Linked DNA regions of Homo sapiens: region 2 is linked to region 1. Evidence: promoter capture Hi-C in 16 types of primary human blood cells and fetal thymus (Javierre and others, 2016). All regions are on one chromosome and are shown on one strand. Each heading gives the region's core, a stretch centred on a gene start or on the middle of the fragment in contact. The rest is flanking DNA. Distances are from core to core; before and after follow the strand shown.

Evidence for each region. The method cuts DNA at HindIII sites, captures the fragments that hold promoters and counts their contacts. A CHiCAGO score of 5 or more calls a contact.
Region 2: a fragment that was not itself captured here is called in contact with the fragment with the promoter of GOLPH3 in region 1 in 2 of 17 cell types (naive CD8 T cells and total CD8 T cells); the score reaches 5.5 in naive CD8 T cells.

Annotation. Positions count from the first base shown.
Region 1 is chr5:32,172,440-32,175,604 of GRCh38, forward strand. GOLPH3 (golgi phosphoprotein 3) reads right to left here and starts at 1,880. Exons shown (of 4, transcript NM_022130.4): 1 at 1,371-1,880. The coding sequence starts at 1,595. RefSeq lists a silencer at 1,164-1,773. The HindIII fragment of the contact is 5,568 bases long and covers 887-3,165 here.
Region 2 is chr5:32,573,608-32,576,870 of GRCh38, forward strand. No RefSeq gene overlaps it. Among named protein-coding and RNA genes, the nearest start is that of SUB1, 10 kb to the right of the region's middle. RefSeq lists a silencer at 2,919-3,089. The HindIII fragment of the contact is 413 bases long and covers 1,319-1,731 here.

The sequences.
Region 1 (3,165 bases), core at 630-3,129:
TAATTTCAGCACTTTGGGAGGCCGAGGCAGGCGGATCACTAGGTCAAGAGATCGAGACCATCCTGGCCAACATGGTGAAACCCCGTCTCTACTAAAGGTATGAAAATTAGCTGGGCATGGCGGCGCACGTCTGTAGTCCCGGCTACTCGGGAGGCTGAGGCAGGAAAATCGCTTGAACCCGGGAGGCGGAGTTTGCAGTGAGTGGAGATCGCGCCACTGCACTCCAGCCTGGGCGACAAACTGAGGCTCCGTCTCAAAAACAAAACAAAACAAAAACACAAAATTAGCCGGGCATGGTGGCGCATGCCTGCCTCAGGAGGCTGAGGCAGGAGAATCGCTTGAACCCGGGAGGCGGAGATTTCGGTAAGCCGAGATCGCGGCATTGCACTCCAGCCTGGGCAACAAGAGCGAAACTCCGTCTCCACATAAATAAATAATCATTTTTGTAGGCAAATATAACAAATACAGCAAAACGTCATAGAATCTAGAAAGAGTATATATGCATATGTATCTATCACTTTTTCAACTTTTCTGTGTGTGAAAATTTTGGACACTGAAGTGAAAATAAACGCTTTCAAAGTCAGAATACAAAGAATTATCTATTGCAACTTCAACCCACCTGAAGCTTTGAGGCCTCTGATCAACTCACAAACCTACATTTCAAGCACTCGATGAAAAAGCCCTTTCTTAAGACGGCAAGACTTTGAGATTCATCAACTGATAAAATATAAAAGCGATACTAAAAATAATCTCTCACCTAATGTAAGTTCACCTAGAAAGTCATTTACCAGGAGGTTTCATGAGAAACTTAACTTAACTTTACTCAGTAAAAGAGCTTTTCCCTCTATTACCACTTCGCCTACGTTTTTCGTAATTCCCAACAGTAAGCTTTAACTGAAGAAGAAGAAAAAAAAAACATCCCCAGCAAGCAGATCCGGGCACCCCTCCCAGGTCCTAAAGCCTGCAAAAACCCAAAGAGTTCGTGGCGCTGGTGGCTCCAGCTGTTAGTTTCCCGGGCAGTCTCCGGGTTGGATTTGCACCCTGGGGTCTACACGGGTTAAAAACGCGGAAAAAAGGCGACGAAGAAATACAAACTGCCAGGGTGTCGAAATGAAAGGAGCGACTGTGAAAGGGGTAAGGAAAAATCCAAGCCATCTCTACGGGGAGGATCCAGAAAGCACCAGCCGCGCCAGGGGGTCAACCAACTCCGACACCGCTCGGCGTCAGCTGGGCGCCACCAGGCGCGGACTTCGGAGCGAGGGCAGGTGCGCGGGCCGGAAGCCTCGGGCGCTCACCTGGCACCTACCTGGAGCTCACCTGGCGCCCGGGCCCCGCGCCGCCGCCCCCCGCCCAGCCCGCCGCGCCCGCACCTCGCGGTCCTTGAGGCCCAGCAGGAGCACTTCCTCCATCAGGGTCAGCCGCGTTTCCTTGGAGTCGCCCTTGTCGTCGTCGTCCTGCTCGTCGCGGCGGCTCTGCGCGTCGTCCTCGCTGCTGCCGGCGCCGCCGCCCGCCGCCCGCTCCTTGTCGGCGGCGTTGCGGGAGGCCTCGGTGCGCCGCTGCACCAGGCCGGAGCTGCGCTGGGTCAGCGAGGTCATGGCTCCCGCCGAGGCGCCGAGCCGGGCCGAGAGGGTCGCAGGACCGACCGGGTCGCCCTCCTCCTCCCCGCGCGGCCTCCGATCCGGGTTTCCGTGTTAAATCCGGACGCCGGGGCGACGTCCGTCGGCAGCAGGGCCGGGGGCAGTCATGAGGAAACAGGTCAGGGCGAAGCGGGCTGGCCGGGCGTCGGCGGGGCAGGAGAGGAGCGCCTTCCTGCCTGTGGCCGCAGTCCCCGAAACACCCCGAGCTCCAAGGCGGAGGCGGCGGCGGCGCCTTTCCAATATGGCGGCCCCGGCTGACGTCACCGGAGGATGTGGCAGAGTCGGCGCGGGAGAGCTGGGCCGGGAGGCGCCGGAAGCGGCGGCCGGGGATCCGCTGCCACTGCAGCCTACACCCTTCCCGGCCCTCGGTGCTTGTCTTTTCTTTGGCGTTCCTGCGCCCCCTGACCCGCGGTCCTGCAGTCCTGCTCCCGTGACGTGCCCTCCCTCCTTCCGTTCCCCGTTTCCCCTTCACTACCCAGGGCTGGAGCCTGAACCTGGCGGGGCCCCCCGTGAATGGAAGAGCCTGGGCCACGCGAAGGTGGACCCCACTCAGCCTCCAGCCGTGCCCTCCACGCCCCAGACACCGCCGTCTTCGGAGGCGACTCCGCGGTCGTGTGGACGGGGTCCCATTTGGACTCCGGGGTCTGCAGGATCGGCAGGAAGGACTTTGCTCTCTGCTGCTGGGCGGGGAGGGGTACGCTATCTGCCGGGACTCCCTAACCCTTTAGAAGGAGCAAGTGCGTCCAAATGGTTTGAAAGTGGACCTTTATTGTTTTCCAGGAGTAAGAAGATAGAACAGTTGACCAGTTTTGTTTGTAAAACTTCTTTCCTTGCCTCGGACTTGTGCTATAAAGTGACCAGGGCGTAGTGAGTACAGTTAGTACCGCACACGTTAGCACGCTCGACCTTAACGATCTTTTTATAGAGACAATAAACCTGCAGCGTTTCATGCCACGTCTTTGTACGCATCGGATGTCTCTCCGTGTAGTTACTAGGTGAAATCCTCTTGGCGTGCGCAAATTAGGTTAAAAAAATAGCTGTCAAACCTGAGACAGGAGTTGGAGGAGTAGAGGGTGGCGCTTGTTAAGTGAAACATTTAACCAGGAATGGTATTGTGTGCCATCCTGTATTAAACAATGTATGGACAGAGTGGAACAACAGCAAAGCAAAAAATAAAAATTTTTTAAAAAAAGTGATCATGGGCTGTGGCTAAAGAGTGCTTTAGATGGATTCTTCTCTTCCACAAATCCATTATCCAGAACTGCTGCTGCCTACCATCCCATGCCCTGGAAAGTGACAGTGCTAAATGAAGGGAAGAGAGGGTCCAGGGGGCACACCAAGTAGACCTTCCCTTTTTCCCACCTGTCTTGGTGAAGGTCGATTTCACCTCAACCAATTTCTCCCATTCACACCCTCTTTTTTTTTTTTTTTTTTTTTTTTTTGAGACGGAGTCTTGCTCTGTTGCCCAGGCTGGGGTGCAGTGGCACAATCTCGGCTCACTGCAAGCTCTGCCTCCCGGGTTCACGCC
Region 2 (3,263 bases), core at 275-2,774, 400 kb after region 1:
GCCCAGGCTGGCCAGTGGAGCAATTACAGCTCACTGCAGGCCTTGACCTCCTTGGCTCAAGTCATCCTCCCACCTCAGCCTCCCGAGTAGTTGGGACTACAAGCACATGCCACCATGGCCGGCTAATTTTTCTATTTTTTGTAGAGATGGGGGTTTCACTTTGTTGCTCAGGCTGGTCTCAAACTCCTGGGCTCAAGTGATCCACTCTCCTCTGCCTCCCAAAGTGCTGGGATTACAGGCATGAGCCACCATTCCCAGCCCTATTTCCATTATTTTAACTTCTAATGCCTGAAAATGAATAGATACAAGAAGAAACATTTAAATGGAGATGTAACTAATCCAATGGCAAAACATTAAAAAAAAATTAAAATAAAACTTACTGACCAAAGAAAGAAAGAAAAGTAGAAATTAAAATGTTTCACTATTGGGTTCAATGTACATTATTCAGGTGACAGGTACACTAAAAGCTCAGACTTCACCACTATACAATTCATCTGTGTAGCCAAAAACCACTGAACCCTTACAGCTATTGAATTTTTTTTTTTTTTGAGACGGAGACTTGCTCTGTTGCCTAGGCTGGAGTGTAGTAGTGCGATCTCAACTCACTGCAACCTCTGCCTCCCGGATTCAAGCAATTCTCCTGCCTCAGCCTCCCAAGTAGCTGGGATTACAGGCACACACCACCATGCCCGGCTAATTTTTATATTTTTTTAGTGGAGATGGGGTTTCACTATGTTGGGCAGGCTGGTCTGGAACTCCTGATCTTGTGATCCACCCACCTCGGCCTCCCAAAGTGCTGGGATTACAGGCATGAGCCACTGCGCCTGTCCAAAAAGTTTTTTAAAAAGGTCTGGGGTGGGCCAGCCAACTGGTTACACAGTTGTCTGGGATCCCATGGAATATTTAACCTGACCTCTGATGGGAACAGGAAACTGAGACCCAGGGAGGTAAAATGACTTGCCCTTGCCCTGTTATGGTCAATATCACTGTAGGTCTCTGGACCCAGCTCTTTAGCAACCTTTCCATGCCTCTATGCAGCTCCCCATGTATCAGTTCTCTGAGAGAATGCAGCTTGGGCATCTGTAACTCTTAGGTTGAATTCAGGCAGTTTACCACTTCTCCTTGGCTCATAATGTCTAGGACAGCCTTGAATAGGTTCAGAAATCATGTGGCAACAAAATCCCCCCTTGATATCATGGTATATGGGTTATGTTTGGTATTTGCAAAGCAAACAACTGGGATCAAATTCCAGCACTGCTACTTAGCCGCTGTGTGACACTGGTATCTTTGTGTCCTAAGACTGTAATAAATTGTCACAAGCTTCGTAGTTTAAATCAACAGAAATTTGGCCAGGCATGGTGGCTCATGCCTGTAATTCCAGCACTTTGGGAGGCTGAGGTAGGTGGATCACTTGAGGTCAGGAGTTTGAGACCAGCCTGGCCAACATGGTAAAACCCTGTCTCTACTAAAAATGCAAAAATTAGCCAAGTGTGGTGGCAGACGCCTGTAATCCCAGCTACTTGTGAGGCTGACAGGAGAACTGACTGCTTGAACCTAGGAGGCAGAGATTGCAGTGAGGCGAGATCATGCCACTGAACTCCAGCCTGGGCGACTAGAACAAGATTCTGTCTCAAAAAATCAATCAATCAATCAACAGAAATTTATTATCTTAAAGTTCTGGAGGGTAGAAGTCGAAAATCAAGGCAACGGGAGGGCCATGCTCCTCCTGAAAGCTTTAGGGAAGAGTCCTCCCTTGCCTCTGCCTAGTTTCTGGTGCCTGCCCGCAATCCTTGGTGTTCCTCGGCTTGTAAGATGCATCCAAGTGTCTTTCTGCTTTCTCTGGTAAAGACACAGGTCACTGTATTTGAAGCCCATCCTAATTTAGTATGACTTTGTCATAATGTGATTACATCTGCAAAGACCCTATTTTCAAATGTAGTCACAATCACAGGTACTGGGGTTAGGACTTGGGTAGATTTTTTGAGGGGGGTTACAATTCAACCAACTAACTCAGGTAACTCCCTTCACCAATCTGAGTACAGTTTCTTCCTTTCTATAATGGAATAAAACACCTCTCTCCCAGGCTTAATGTGAATACAATGAGATGACATGCATAAGTGCCCGGAATATAGGAGGTGCTCTGAAGATGCTGCCAACTCCCCCTTGGATTTCTTTGTTCCTAAAGTCAAGCTCAGTGATCGCACATAGTAGATAAGTTTGGCAGTTGATTGATTTTCTAAATCAGAAGTGTAAATGCCCAGTGGACTTTGCACCAAAGGACCCAGAGATCTGGCTATGCATTCTCTAAGTGTCTTTTCACAAGGCAAGACTCTCCCAGTCCCTCTTGGAGAATCACTTTTGAGACACATTTACTAGTTCTACCTGCTTTCTCCTTAAATCACCATGGATAGCAGCATCCTTTCTGCACATCTCGGGTTCTGCTTGGATTTAGCATTAACTCCTTGATAACATGTTATGAGGACAAAATCTCTGCTTTCTGTGTGGAATTGACACAAAGATATTTACACTATTGAATTAAGGCTTCTAATTTGGCTTTATAGGTGAGCTCCTAGTCAGAATACTGAAGAATTAATAAAAATTACATAAATGACCTAAAGAAATGTGAATTCATATAGATTGTTTAAAATGGGCAAGTTTTATTAGAAAACTATCCTATTTAACAGCATCCCTGGTAAATAAGAAAACAAACAAACAAAAATGGCTGGGCGCAGTGGCTCACGCCTGTAATCCCAGCACTTTGGGAGGCCAAGGCGGGCAGATCACCTGAGGTCAGGAGTTCGAGACCAGCCTGGCCAACATGGTGAAACCCCATCTCTACTAAAAATACAAAAAAAAAAAAAAAATTAGCCAGGCGTGGTGGCAGGTGCCTGTAATCCCAGGTACTTGGGAGGCTGAGGCAGGAGAATCACTTGAACTGGGGAGGCAGAGGTTGCAGTGAGCCAAGATCACACTGCTGCATGCACTCCAGCATGGGCGACAGAGAAAGACTCAGACTAAAAAAGAAAAACAAAACAAAACAAAAAACCACCAACCAACCAACCAAACCAAAGCAAACAAAACAAAAAATAGAAGACAGAAAAAAGAAAACTATCCTCCAGAGTAACAGTTCGAATTCATAGAGGAAATATCTCATTTGAAAAAAAAGCTCCAGGTCTTTAGAGAAAATAAATTACTAACCTGATAACATATTTCAGCAGAATCTAATGTGGTAGATGTCTCTAGAAGTTTCTTTAAAGGAAAAT